Regions from separate parts of the Homo sapiens genome. Here region 2 is linked to region 1. Evidence: promoter capture Hi-C in human tissues and cell types (Jung and others, 2019). All regions are on one chromosome and are shown on one strand. The core of a region is centred on a gene start or on the middle of the fragment in contact, and the rest is flanking DNA. Distances in the headings are between cores, read along the strand shown.

Evidence for each region. The method cuts DNA at HindIII sites, captures the fragments that hold promoters and counts their contacts. A contact is called where the count stands out against the background at its distance.
Region 2: a fragment that was not itself captured here is called in contact with the fragment with the promoter of CCND1 in region 1 in 1 of the 25 tissues and cell types used here (mesenchymal stem cells).

What each region holds. Positions count from the first base shown.
Region 1 is chr11:69,639,439-69,646,551 of GRCh38, forward strand. CCND1 (cyclin D1) reads left to right here and starts at 1,718. Exons shown (of 5, transcript NM_053056.3): 1 at 1,718-2,073; 2 at 3,593-3,808; 3 at 4,394-4,553. The coding sequence starts at 1,876. RefSeq lists enhancers at 1-481, 1,989-2,691, 4,210-4,954 and silencers at 3,314-3,453, 3,544-3,603, 3,734-3,993. The HindIII fragment of the contact is 19,039 bases long and covers 1-7,113 here.
Region 2 is chr11:69,327,706-69,335,103 of GRCh38, forward strand. No RefSeq gene overlaps it. Among named protein-coding and RNA genes, the nearest start is that of MYEOV, 37 kb to the left of the region's middle. The HindIII fragment of the contact is 5,852 bases long and covers 3,145-7,398 here.

The sequences.
Region 1 (7,113 bases), core at 468-2,967:
TGAGGCTTGGCTATGCGGGGGCCAACGCGATTGTGGGTGCTCGGGGAGTGGGGGGGGGCACGACCGTAGGTGCTCCCTGCTGGGGCAACCCATCGCTCCCCATGCGGAATCCGGGGGTAATTACCCCCCCAGGACCCGGAATATTAGTAATCCTAATTCCCGGCGGGGGAGGGGGCGCGGGAGGAATTCACCCTGAAAGGTGGGGGTGGGGGGGGTCGCATCTTGCTGTGAGCACCCTGGCGAAGGGGAGAGGGCTTTTTCTATCAGTTTTCTTTGAGCTTTTACTGTTAAGAGGGTACGGTGGTTTGATGACACTGAACTATATTCAAAAGGAAGTAAATGAACAGTTTTCTTAATTTGGGGCAGGTACTGTAAAAATAAAAACAAAAGTTAAGACAGTAAAATGTCCTTTTATTTTTTAATGCACCAAAGAGACAGAACCTGTAATTTTAAAAACTGTGTATTTTAATTTACATCTGCTTAAGTTTGCGATAATATTGGGGACCCTCTCATGTAACCACGAACACCTATCGATTTTGCTAAAAATCAGATCAGTACACTCGTTTGTTTAATTGATAATTGTTCTGAATTATGCCGGCTCCTGCCAGCCCCCTCACGCTCACGAATTCAGTCCCAGGGCAAATTCTAAAGGTGAAGGGACGTCTACACCCCCAACAAAACCAATTAGGAACCTTCGGTGGTCTTGTCCCAGGCAGAGGGGACTAATATTTCCAGCAATTTAATTTCTTTTTTAATTAAAAAAAATGAGTCAGAATGGAGATCACTGTTTCTCAGCTTTCCATTCAGAGGTGTGTTTCTCCCGGTTAAATTGCCGGCACGGGAAGGGAGGGGGTGCAGTTGGGGACCCCCGCAAGGACCGACTGGTCAAGGTAGGAAGGCAGCCCGAAGAGTCTCCAGGCTAGAAGGACAAGATGAAGGAAATGCTGGCCACCATCTTGGGCTGCTGCTGGAATTTTCGGGCATTTATTTTATTTTATTTTTTGAGCGAGCGCATGCTAAGCTGAAATCCCTTTAACTTTTAGGGTTACCCCCTTGGGCATTTGCAACGACGCCCCTGTGCGCCGGAATGAAACTTGCACAGGGGTTGTGTGCCCGGTCCTCCCCGTCCTTGCATGCTAAATTAGTTCTTGCAATTTACACGTGTTAATGAAAATGAAAGAAGATGCAGTCGCTGAGATTCTTTGGCCGTCTGTCCGCCCGTGGGTGCCCTCGTGGCGTTCTTGGAAATGCGCCCATTCTGCCGGCTTGGATATGGGGTGTCGCCGCGCCCCAGTCACCCCTTCTCGTGGTCTCCCCAGGCTGCGTGTGGCCTGCCGGCCTTCCTAGTTGTCCCCTACTGCAGAGCCACCTCCACCTCACCCCCTAAATCCCGGGGGACCCACTCGAGGCGGACGGGGCCCCCTGCACCCCTCTTCCCTGGCGGGGAGAAAGGCTGCAGCGGGGCGATTTGCATTTCTATGAAAACCGGACTACAGGGGCAACTCCGCCGCAGGGCAGGCGCGGCGCCTCAGGGATGGCTTTTGGGCTCTGCCCCTCGCTGCTCCCGGCGTTTGGCGCCCGCGCCCCCTCCCCCTGCGCCCGCCCCCGCCCCCCTCCCGCTCCCATTCTCTGCCGGGCTTTGATCTTTGCTTAACAACAGTAACGTCACACGGACTACAGGGGAGTTTTGTTGAAGTTGCAAAGTCCTGGAGCCTCCAGAGGGCTGTCGGCGCAGTAGCAGCGAGCAGCAGAGTCCGCACGCTCCGGCGAGGGGCAGAAGAGCGCGAGGGAGCGCGGGGCAGCAGAAGCGAGAGCCGAGCGCGGACCCAGCCAGGACCCACAGCCCTCCCCAGCTGCCCAGGAAGAGCCCCAGCCATGGAACACCAGCTCCTGTGCTGCGAAGTGGAAACCATCCGCCGCGCGTACCCCGATGCCAACCTCCTCAACGACCGGGTGCTGCGGGCCATGCTGAAGGCGGAGGAGACCTGCGCGCCCTCGGTGTCCTACTTCAAATGTGTGCAGAAGGAGGTCCTGCCGTCCATGCGGAAGATCGTCGCCACCTGGATGCTGGAGGTGCGGGGCTTCGGGCGGCTCTCTTAAGACTTCCCTGCAACTTGTTGCCCAGACCCACGTTTCTTTGCTACTCACCCCCCTCCCTTCTCTCCCGCTAGAACTTTGAAGTTTGCCGTGGTGTTTCTAGGGATCCGTATTTTCAAAATAAAAATTGCGGGTATTTTCTGAAGGAGGAAGGGGTGGGGGTGGGGGTGCTAGAAGTAGCGTTTCGTGGGAGGGGAGAAGGGGGTCCGGGAGGGGTGCCTTCGGGAGAAGCCAGTGCCAGGGGCACCCCAATGGGCCCGAGGGTGCGGGCTGGCAGGCTGGGTGCGCTTTGTGTCCCCCGCCTGCGCCCCAGCCCGGCTGCGCCTCAGCGGCCGGGAGCCGCCAACTCCGGGGGGAGGGGGCATAGATTTGATTTTTAAATTAATATCCATGGACACGTATGCAAGGGCCGCTCGTGCCAGTATTATGCGCCATCTTTGCTCTTTTATTGCAAAGCAAAAGTGTTTATTAATAATTGGGGGCAGGGTGGGGGCGGGGAGCGGCCGCCGGGCGCTGGGGCCGCAGCTAAGGGCCGCGCGGCTGCCGGGAGCCCGCGGGAGGGGCGCAGGGACGCGGCATGGGTAGTTTTGGGGGGACGCCGCTAGGGAAGGGGGGGCCTTTGTTCAAGCAGCGAGTCCCGGGGCGCCCCGAACGGGCAGCCTGGGCCGGAGAGCACGGCGAGCTGCAAGGTCGCGTGGCCCCCAAGACGCCAGGGCTTGATCCCCGTCTGCAGGGATATCGGCTTGGAGGACCTTCTCCGAGCGAGCCGGGGGCCTGGGAGCACATTTTCAGACCTTCGGTGGGCGCCTGAGGGGCCCGCAAGTATTTTAAAATAATTTTTGAAAGTGCGGCGTGGTGCCCTTGCGAGAGGGAAACGCCGCCCGCGCCCAGGGGGAAGGGGGGGCCCCGGAGTTTGAATTCCTGGGGCTCCCCCCGGAGCCTGTAACGAACTCCCAACCCCCGGCCTGGGTAAAGGGTCGCCCGAGGGTCATTTTCAGGGTTTTTTTATGCACTTAGTTATTTTTTTAATATTTTTAAATATTTTTTGAAAAGATGACGTCTGGGGAAATGCGGCGCGGCGGCCTGGGACGCCACCTTTGTGTCTCGCAGGCGCGGCGCCCAACCCCGCGGCCCGTTCCGCGGCCCCGCACCCCAGTTGGTGTCGACCCCCAGTCAGAGGGACCACGGAGCTCCAGGGCGGGCCAGGGTCCCGGGGGCCGGCAGCCCGCGCCGCCGCGCACGCCGCCCAGCTGTGCCCGCTCCCGCCCCCACCGTGCCAGCCTCGCGGGGACTTTCCCTTTCAGTTTCGGGGAGGGTGGGTACTGGGGACGCGCGGGGGAGGGGGCGCATCACGGGAAGCTCCTGCCGCCCCCAGCCCCGACCCCTCGGCGCCCTCCAGACCTGGCGGCCCTGCCAAGCGCGATGGGGGGTGCGGGGGCGTGCGGGGGGGCGGCGCGACCTGGCGGCGGCGGTCACGGGCCCCGTGCCTCCGTAGGTCTGCGAGGAACAGAAGTGCGAGGAGGAGGTCTTCCCGCTGGCCATGAACTACCTGGACCGCTTCCTGTCGCTGGAGCCCGTGAAAAAGAGCCGCCTGCAGCTGCTGGGGGCCACTTGCATGTTCGTGGCCTCTAAGATGAAGGAGACCATCCCCCTGACGGCCGAGAAGCTGTGCATCTACACCGACAACTCCATCCGGCCCGAGGAGCTGCTGGTAACCACTGGACCCCGCCGCCCCCCGCCCCCCGCGAGCCGCACGCAGGACCACGGGGCCGGGGAAGGTGCAGGCGGTGGCGGCCGGCCCGCCTCTGACATATCTGCTCCTCCGAGGGAGGGCGGCCCCGCCGCCGGGCGTCCCTGTCCGGGGAGCGGGCGGGATCCTAGCCGCCCTCGTCCCGCCGCCCTGTGTGCGCTTGCCTGCGACTCCCACCGCGTTCGCGCCCCGCGGTGTGGCCGAAAAGTGGGCGGCGCGCGCCCTCCAGCGGCTGCACGAGGAGCGCCGCGCTCGGCGCTGAGCCTCCAGTTCCAGGTGGTGGGAGGTCTTTTTGTTTCCACTTGCAGAGTCTTTTCACGCGGCGGGCGCCTTTTCTGTTTTGATCTGGGATTGCGTGTTGCCCCAGCTCCCTTGAGTCCCCAGCATTCGCCAGCCCTCCCCTCCAACATCCAGGACCGCACGAGACGCAGGGGCCAGTGCTCTGAGCCGGAGGTGCGGCGTGGCCCGGCCCCCGTGCTGCCGGCTTCCCCGCGCCCCCGGGCTGGCCCGCACCTCCCCTGATGGCCGCTCACCCTGTGTTCGCAGCAAATGGAGCTGCTCCTGGTGAACAAGCTCAAGTGGAACCTGGCCGCAATGACCCCGCACGATTTCATTGAACACTTCCTCTCCAAAATGCCAGAGGCGGAGGAGAACAAACAGATCATCCGCAAACACGCGCAGACCTTCGTTGCCCTCTGTGCCACAGGTAGGGCAGGCCCGGCAGCCCCCGGCCTCCCCTTGAGAGCCGGCTCCTTAGGTGACCCTGGCCGGCTTCTTGCTCTCCACCTGGGTGCTGTCTGGGAAGATGTCCCCAGACCCCCTCCTGCGCTGGAGAGCGCTCTTCCAGCTCTGGTGAGCAGAGGCCCTGGATTGTTTGTCGCGCTGGATGGAGGGAGATTTGCTCCCTCACGGCCACCATGCAGTACCTTGGGCATTGGTGTGGACGGCTCAGCCTGCCTGTGTCCCGTTACTCTGGCCTCGTCCTTCAGGCCAGGCAGCCTGTGGCCACTCCATGCTGAAAGGGGTTTACCTTGGCCACAGGGCCGCCTCCTTTCTCCACCCACCTCCAGCCCTTCTTGTGTCCTTAAGGAGCCTGAGCTGCAGAGGCCCCCTCCTGGCCTCTCCCAGGCTGGGCCACCTGCCAGAGGCGCCTCCAGGGGCGGGGAGAGCTGTCGGCCTGCCTGCACCACGTGCTCTGGGCAGCCGAGTGCAGGGGTGTCCAGCAGAGGAGCTCGGCTGCCTGAGGCCCTGCCAGGGGTGCCGGCAGCCAGCCGGGCTCAGCTGAGCCCTGAGGGGGCGCTTCAGAGCACTCTCAGCTTGGGCCGCCACCGTGGGCAGCAGAAGCACCCAGTCCTCACTTCCCCTGGCATGGCCCCAGAGGCCCCTCCCTGACATGGCCTTGGCCCCAGAACCCAGTGGGGACAGACTCGCACATACACAGGGTGCCGCCTCCTGCTGTCCCCAGCCCTGCCTCTGACCCCCCTGTGACCGCCTCCTTCCCTGGCCCAGGAGGCCTGGTTACCTTCATGGGGGAGCATGGCCCCATCCCACCCAGCTCTGCTGTGGCCCACCTTTGGTCAAGCCTCAGTTGTCACATCTGTTTGGGGGCTCACTCTGGGTGACCTAGGCCACAAGGCCCACGGGGCATCAAAGAGGCAGTAGCATCTTCTCCCCTCCCCAGAGGGCAGAGCCCCCCAAGCCTACTTCAGAGCTCCCTTCTGACACCGGTAGCCCGCAGCCGGTATTCCAGAATGGGTTCTGGTTTAGGCGTGAGGCCTCCCCCACCTCCTCCACCTGCTTGGGGCATGAACCCCTCCCCCACGTTTCCAAGCGAGTCCCCAAGGTGGGCAGATGAAGATGCCAAGGATGTCGACCAGTCTGGATGGGTCTGGGGTGGGGGGGCATGCGGCAGACAGGGAGGCATTCTCTGGCTGGTGCTCCTCAGAGGAGAGAGGCCTCCGGAGACTCCAGACAGCCTTTTATGGAGCTGAAAGTGGCTTCAGAGAAATGCAAAGTTTCCTGGAGAGAACGTGGGGCGTGGTTCTTGCACAGCCTCCCTACAGGGTGGCTCCAGCAGTGGAGCTCCCCTCCCAGGACCCCTGGGTGCTAGTGGGAGGCAGTGGGCAGGTGCAGATTCTCGTCCTTCCCACTACTGCACACCCTTTGTCTGCGAAGGCGCCCCCAGCGGTGGGTGAAGGAGGAGGGACACTTGGGGACCCAGCTGTGCACGTGCTCTCAGTGACTGTGGAGTCCACTCCAGGGTGGGTCCCGAGGGAGGGGCAGGAGACCAGGGGACCCACCCCTGCAAAGTGCTCCGGGTCCTGACCCGTGGCCACCCCATGGAACGTAACTGAGCAGCCAGTGCCTTGTTCCTGCTGGACATCTGTGGAGACAAGAGTGACTTACGGCTGCTTAAAGTCAGAAACAGGTTGAAGGAGGTGGAGGCGTGGGAAAGAGTCTAGGAAGGTGTTTTTGCCCTCCACGTGGCAAAGGTTACATTTAAAGGTGATGCTGGGTGTTCTCCCTGCACTAGGCATTCCTGGCCCCAGGTCCCCAGCAGGTGTGCACATGCTGCATACACTCACGCATGGGGGTTTCAGGGCAGGTGCGCCCTTGGCTCCGTGGGAGGCCAGGTGAGGAACGTCCAGTGCCAAGGAGCTTCCGGGACAGCTGTCACTTCCCTTTACAACCAGGCAGCGGATAGGGTCAAATCCTGGAGCTTTGGTGTCTAATTCTGGGTGGCTCCTAATCTAAGCACAGACAGCACCACACACTGGGGTGGGGGCACGAGCTTCTGAAACAACGTGGCCCCAGTGACTCCACGCTGTGTGTGCCCCTGGAGACGGGGGGGTGCACAAGGTGCGGAGCCAGCTAGAACCTGTCGCTCCCTGCAGAAGCGGTTTCTGTGTGCGGTTCTGATTTGCCTCAATGAGAAGGTTTTCATTCATGGCTCCCGGCTCTCAGACTGGGTGGAACTGCTCCCATTTAAAGGGGAAAAGAGGTGGCTCGGCTCGTTAAGGATTTCTTTTTCTAAGTTGTTACGGCGCCCAGCAGCCGGCTTTGTCTCCCCTTCAGGGTGGCTGCCTTTCTTCCCGGCCCCTCGCCGGCGGCCCTCTCTTTAACAAGGCCGAAGTTGTTTATTCTCTCGGGATGAAGTCTCGGATGGGCCGCCACACCCCTGGCGGCCCGTGGGGGCCCCTCTCCCTTTGTGCCTGGGTCGGCTCCCATTCAGCTCCCCCGACCCCCCTTGTTCCCGGGCGCTCAGT
Region 2 (7,398 bases), core at 4,821-7,320, 310 kb before region 1:
GTGTCGTGGAATGTGGCAGCTCTGTTAGGGTGAACAGCTGTTCCAGCTCACCTGGGATTTTCCTGCTTGGTTTTGTCACTGCAAGGTCCCCATCTTGGGAAGCTTCTCCTCTGCATGGGAGAATCAGAACTGTTGGTCACCTACTTCCAGCTTCCGGGGCCTGTTTCCCAAGGCCAGAGGCCCTGCTGGTATGCTCTGTGCCTTCCTTGGGGACAGCAGCTCCCATGTGTGCCTCCCATGCTGACTTCTGGGAAGGCACGTGCTGAGAAGCGGCAGGCCCAGTGCCCAGCAGGCTTGGCCACTGGCTACCAGGGCTGGCAGCACAGACTGGTCCCAGGTCTCCTGAATTCAGGAACCCGGGCAAAGCTGTGCCCATTCCCATGGGGGTGGCTCTGCTTCATCCACCCGGAGAGGCTGCTCACAGGTTGATAAAACTGCTGTGTCATACTGGACCCAAGGGGCTCGCCTCTCCCCTGTCCCCATCCTGCCCAGTGGAGGAAACTGAGGCATGGGAAGGGGAGTGACTTGCTCAAAGTCACATAGCTCTGAGTCTCCGAGCTTGGACCGGAATCCAGGTCTCCCTCCTCCCAGTGAGTTGCTCTACCCTGAACCCAGGGACAATGTGTATTGCTTTGGGAAAGCTGCCTGGCACAAGGCTCTTATGGCTTTGCACCCCCCTGTCCCGTGGCTACAGGGCCGGCAGCTTCTCTCTGAGCTGTTGCCTGATGGAAGTCCAACTCAACAGGCTTGAACAAAAGGGGCTGGCCTGGCACAGAACAGGCGTGGCGGGCCCAGGCTTTACAAGAGGTCAGGAACTTTCCTTCCATGGTCGCTCGCTCTCCTACCCCCATCTCTGCTGCTTGAAGATGGAAAAGTAGAATCAGCACACCCAGTGAGCCTGGAGAAAGAGGCTTGCATCTAATTTCTAGAGAAGCAATGGGTTCCTGTCTGGACTCCATATTAGCAAATGCAAGCCTCTCCTGGTCCGAATAGAATCCTGTACCCTAGTTTATCTTTCTCCCTCCATTGGACTAGCTCCTCCTAATCTATCTTTACCCATTCCATCCGTCCAATATGTTAGAAAAAGAAGGGCCATCCAAGTTATTCCTTTAATGGCCGCCTTAGGTATAACCTCCGGGCTTGGGTTGGGAGCAGGCGGATTGACCACCTCCTTAACATACTTTAAAGCTCTGTCAACAGAACTGCAAGGTTCATTAAAAGATATAGCCCAAAGCCTGATAAAAGTCCAAGACCAGGGTGGACATGGTGGCTCACGCCTGTAATCTCAGCACTTTGGGAGGCCGAGGCTGGCAGATCATTTGAGGTCAGGAGTTCGAGACCAGCCTGGCCAACATGGTGAAATCCTGTCTCTACTAAAAATACAAAAATTAGCTGGGCACATGCCTGTAATCCCAGCTACTCTGGAGGCTGAGGCAGGAGAGTTGCTCGAACCCAGGAGGCGGAGGTTGCAGTGAGCCGAGATCATGCCACTGCACTCCAGCCTGGGCGACACAGCAAGACTCGGTCTCAAACAAACAAGCAAACAAACAAACAACAAAAAAAGACAGTCCAAGACCAACTAGACTCTTTGGCTGGAGTAGTCCTCCAAAATAGATGGTGATTAGATCTTACAATGGGTGAAAAAGGGGGCCCCTGCCTCTCATTGGGTGAAGAATGTTGCTTCTATCTCAACCAATTGGGCCTAGAAAGAGATGCTGCTGAAAAACTTAGAGGGCTAAAAAGCTAAGAGAATACCCCGACAACCAACTAAATTCTTGGTTTAAAAACAAAATCCTAACATTAAGACCATACAGTCTTCTTTCCTCTTATCTTCATACCTAAAAGAAAGATATTTTTGTTCCCTTTCAATTGTTTGTTGAGGCAGAATTGACATACAATAAACTGCATGTGTTTAAAGTGTACAATTTGGTAAGTTTTGACATCTTTATACACCCATGAAAATATCACTATGATCAAGACAATAAATATGTCCACAACCCCCAAAGTTTCCCATGTTCCTCCCCACCCCCATCCCCAGGGAAACGCTTCTCTGCTAATTCTCATGATAGGTTGTTTGCATTTTCCAGAATTTTATATAAATAGGGTCATAAAGTATGCACTCTTGCTTTGCCTGGATTCTTTTGCTCAGTATAAGTATTCTGAGGTTCATCTACATTGTCACTTGTATGACTAGTTTGTTCCTTTTTATTGCGGAGTACTGTTTCACTAAGTGGATGCACTGGTTTGTTTTTATCTACTCCCCAGTTAACGGACATCAGAGTTGTTTCTAGTTTGGGGCTATTACAATAAGGCTGCTATGAACATCTGTGTATAAGCCTTTGTATGGATATAGGCTTTCATTTCTCTTGGGTACATATTGAGGAGTGAAATGGCTGGGTTATAACTACTGGTATTGAGATTGAGATTGTTTTGAATCTGTAGATCCATTTTGGGGGAATTGGCATCTTTTGACCCATGAATATGGTCTATTTCTCAATTTATTTTGGTATTCTTTAATTTCTCTCAGCAAATTTCAGTTTCACACAGGTTTTTATCAGACTTGTCTATGTGTGTATTTCCTATTTTTGTCGTGTTTCTGTAAATGTTTTTATTCCGGTTGTGTCATGTTGCTATTATACAGACACACAATGGCTTTTTGTATATGGATCTTCTATACCGCAAACTTGTTAAACTCGTTGGTGACTTCTAGTAGCTTTTTTCATAGACTCCATAAGATTTTCTCTGTAGATGGTCGAATTGTTTGTAAATAAAGCAGATTCATTTGCTCCTTTCTGATTCAAAGACACTTCCTCTCTCCCTCCCTCCCTTACTTCCCTTCTCTTTCCCTCCTCCTTCTTTTTTCTTTCTTCTTAAAATCTTACTAGACTGGCAAGAACCTTCCATGCAATATTGGTTAGAAGTGGTTAGAGAGCACATCCCTGCCTTATTCCTGATCTTAGAGGGAAAGATTTTGGTCTTTCACTATTAAGTATGATGTTAGTTGCGGGTTTTTCACAGATGCCCTTCACCAGGTTGAGGACGTTTCCTTTTATTCCTAGTTTATTGAGAGTTTTTATCAGCAATATATGTTGGATTTGGACTAATGCTTTTCCTGCATCCATTGAGACAATGTGCTTTTATATTGTAAATATAATATTTTCGCAATAATATTATGAATTACATTGTTTTCTAATGTTAAACCGAACTTGTATTCCTAAAATAAACTATACTGGATCATATGTATTATTTTTTTATGTGTTGCTGGACTTGATTTTTAAAACTTTGTTTAGAATGTTTGCATCTATTTCATGAGGGATATTAGTTTGTAGCTTTCTTTTCTTGTAATATATTTGTATGATTTTGATATTACAGTAGTGCTGGCTTCATAGAATAAGTTGGAAATACTCTTTTCTCTTAAATTTTCTGGCAAATTTTGTGTAGATTGAAATTATTTCTTTCTTAAGTGTTTTGTAAAATGCACCAGTGAGGCCTAGAGTTTTCTTTGTAGTAAAGTTTTTAACTTCTTAAAAAATATGGACTATTCAGGTTATCTATTTCTTCTTGAGTGAGCTTTATTAGTTTTTGTCTTTCAAGGAATTTGTCCATTACATCTGAATTGTCAAATTTCTTCGCATACAATTATTCATCATATTCCTTTTAATATGTGTGCAATCGGTAGTAATGCTACCTCTTTCATTTCTCATATTGGTAATTTGTCTTCTTTCTTTTCTTTCTGATGAGTAGGGTTTGATGTTTGTAAGTCGGATTGATCTTTTCAAATTACCAGTTTTGGGTTTCATTGATTCTATTTTTTTTATTTTATTGATTTCCGCTCTAATCTTTATTATTTCCTTTTTTTCTGTTTCTCTTTGGTTAGATTTGTCCTTTTTTCTCTAGTTTCTTCAGGTAAAAGCTGGGATATTTTAGTGCTATAAATTACTTAGAGTACTGGTTTAATCACATCCCACAGACTTTGTAGGTTGTGTTTTCATTTTCAAATATTTCAAAATGTTTTCCAATTTCCATTTTCTAATTATCTTTTTGATTTCTTTAAACTGTGCTTTACAGAGAAGTGTTATTTAGTTTCCAAATATTTGGGGATTTTACAGATATCATTCTATTATTTGGTGTCTAATTTTATTCTATTTTGGCCAGAAAACATGCATTGAATGATTTGTATCCTTTTAAATTTATTGAGATTTTTCACGCCCTTTTAAATTTATTGAGATGAGATTATGATATATTTTTGAAAAATGTTCTGTGTGTTTGAAGATAATTTATATTTTGCTGTCGTGAGTGAAGTGTTCTAAACATGCCAGTTGAGTCACATTGATTGCTAGATTGCTAGTGTTATTCAAGTCTTCTACATTCTTCTTCTTCTTTTTTTTTGGAGACAGAGTCTCACTTTGTCAGCCAGACTGGTGTGCAGTGGTGTGATCCTGGCTCACTGTAACCTCTACCTTCTGGGTTCAAGCAATTCTCCTGCCTCAGCCTCCGGAAGAGCTGGGACTACAGGCATGCACCACCATACCTGGCTAATTTTTGTATTTTTAGTGGAAATGACGTTTCGCCATGTTGGCCAGGCTAGTCTAGAACTCCTGACCTCAGGTGATCTGCCTGCTTCGGCCTCCCAAAGTGCTAGCATTACAGGTGTGAGCCACCATGCCCAGCCCTATATTCTTGTTGACTTCTGTACATTTGCCCTGTCAATCATAGAGCTGTTGAAACCTATTACTATAACTGGATTTGTCTATTTCTTTTGTAGTTCTATTCATTTTGCCTCATGTATTTTGAAGGTCTTATTTGGCATATAAACATCTAGAATTGTTATGTTCACTTGAGAATTGAAACCTTTTGTCATTATGAAATGACTATTCCTGGCAATATTCTTTCCTCTAAAATCTACTTTGCTATTAGTGTAGCAAAGTAGCAAATATGAACATAGCAAAGTACATTAGCATGGTAATTAGTGTGGTACATCTTTTTTTATCCTTTTGCTTTAAAATTATTATTTTTTTTATATTTAAAGTGGGCTTCTTGTAGGCAGCATGTAATTGGGTCTTGCTTGTTTTATCCAACCTATCAATCTTTGTTTCTTAATTGAGGTGTTTAGACCTTTACATTTAATGTGATTGTTGATATAATAGTATTTAATTCTGCCATCATGATTTTTGTTTTGTATTTGTATTACTTGTTCTGTGTTTCATTTTCCCTCCTTTCTACCTTCTTTGTGATTGAGTATTATTCATTCCTTCATTTTATCTTATTTGTTGGTTTATTAGCTGTAATTCTTTGCTGTATTATATTAGTGGTTGCTAAAGCGTTTATAGTATACATCTTTAACTTATCACAGTCTATCTTTGAATAATATTATCCTTCAGTGATATTATACTACCTAACATCTAGTAAAAGAAATTTATTGCAGTATACTTTCATTCCATGTCTCACCTTTGTACTATTGTTTTCATACCATTTAGGTGTCCAGTTGTGTTTGTGTCTGTATATGTGTGTGCACAGCAGTGAGAGGCAGCTATTATAGTTCCCATTTAGTTGTTGAGAAAAGTTTGGCTTTCCCACTTGTAAAAATCCTTTGCAGCTCAAATGTCCCCTCCTCCAGGCAGCCTTCCCCAGCCTCTGCCAATGACTTGAAATATTTCCCCATGTACAGGCATCCTTTGCCTGGGCCACACTCTTCTTGCAGAAGCAGGGCATGTCTTTTCTGTCTGCCCCATCAGATGGTCACCTACTTGAGGGCAGAGCTCAAAACCACAGGACTCTCCCTTGAGTCTTTCACAGCCCCTTGTCCACAGCTGGTGCTCCATATGCACTTACTGAATTGGCCTGAATGCCACGAGCCAGATTCAGCCCTGGCAGCAACCTCGTGGCTTCTCAAGGTGTGATGCTATGAAAAAAGCATGAGCTTTGAGATTGGAAAGACATGACTTAAAATTCTGAGCCCACCACTAATTGGCTGTGTGTGACTTGGGTGAGAAAGCATCACCTGAGCCTTTGTCTGTCCATTTGTATAATGGGGATCCTGTCAGGCTGGCTATAAAGACAGCTACAATGCACTAAAGCACTAGAACTTTGGCAGGTCTGTGTGGGCACTGAGGAAACACCAGCTTCTCTGATTCTCTGCCCCACACCTCCTTTCTGTTTGGCCCCCTCTCTTGCCCTGGGCCAAAGCTTAAAGTCTCACATCGTGAAGTCTTTCTGGTCCCTTTGTCCATTTGTCCATTTGCCAGTCCAATCTGCAGCCAGATGTCTATCCCCATGAGAGTCTGTCCTGCCAGAGCATTTAATAAATTTGTCATGGGACAGCTATGAGGCCACAGAGCAAGCCTTCCCAGGACACCTGATACGGGCTGGATAAACCCACCAGGCCTCTGGGATTAGTGTAGGTGGGAAGCCCAATTGGTGGTTGCTTAACTATTCACCCTATGATTCAGGAAGCTGAGATGGGGTGGGAAAGGTGATTGGCTACAGTGGGAGAGGCCCCAAGTTCCCCCATACCCTGGGGTGACCATGGGATTCAATTGTGGTTCTTTGTGTCCAGGGAACAGAAACCAACTCCAGCTGACCTAGGCAAAGGGGGCATTTGTTGGATGCATATGGGGTAGATTAGTGAATCTAAGGAAAACTACACCCCCAAGCTGGAGAGGTTGAGAGACAGCTCCAGGCATATTGGGAAGAGAGGCTGGACAGGAGAAAAGGCAACTGGTGCTCACCAGCCCCTGCTACATTCCTCGCCAACCCTGGTCTAATGCTCAAGGTCTTTGTACTGCAGCCATTGAACCTAAGACCTGGGCCCAGTCCTGGTGCCACCTTCAGTGGCTGTGTGACTTTAGGCAGGTCCCTTCCCCTCTCCAAGCTCAGTGTCTTCAGCTTGGGTTGTGAGAGTCTAATGCCATAGAGGATATGCTTGGTACAGTGAAAAGTTCTATGCCCTAGAGAGAGGTTGTCACTGCTTGGTGTGTGTATTAGCTTCCTGTGGCTACGGTCACAAATTAGCACAAATGAAGTAGCTTCTAACAATGCAAATTTATTCCCATACATTCTGGAGGTCAAATGTCTGAAATCAGTCTCCCTGGGCTAAAATCAAGGAGTCAGCAGGGCTGGTTTTTCTGGAGGCTCAGGAGGGAAATCCACTGGGGGCCCTTTCCAGCTTCTAGAGGCCACTTGTGTTCATTGGATTGTGGCCCCTTCCTTCATGTTCAAAACAACAGCATAGCTTCACCACACACCACAATCATTTCACCCATCGGCTTCTGTTGTAACAGCACTTTGCTTCTGTCTGTCCTCCCTGCCTCCTCTCTAAGGACCCTGAGATTCAATTTAGAGCCCACTTGGATAATCCAGCTCGGGATCATTTCCTTACTCACATCCGCACAGCCCTGT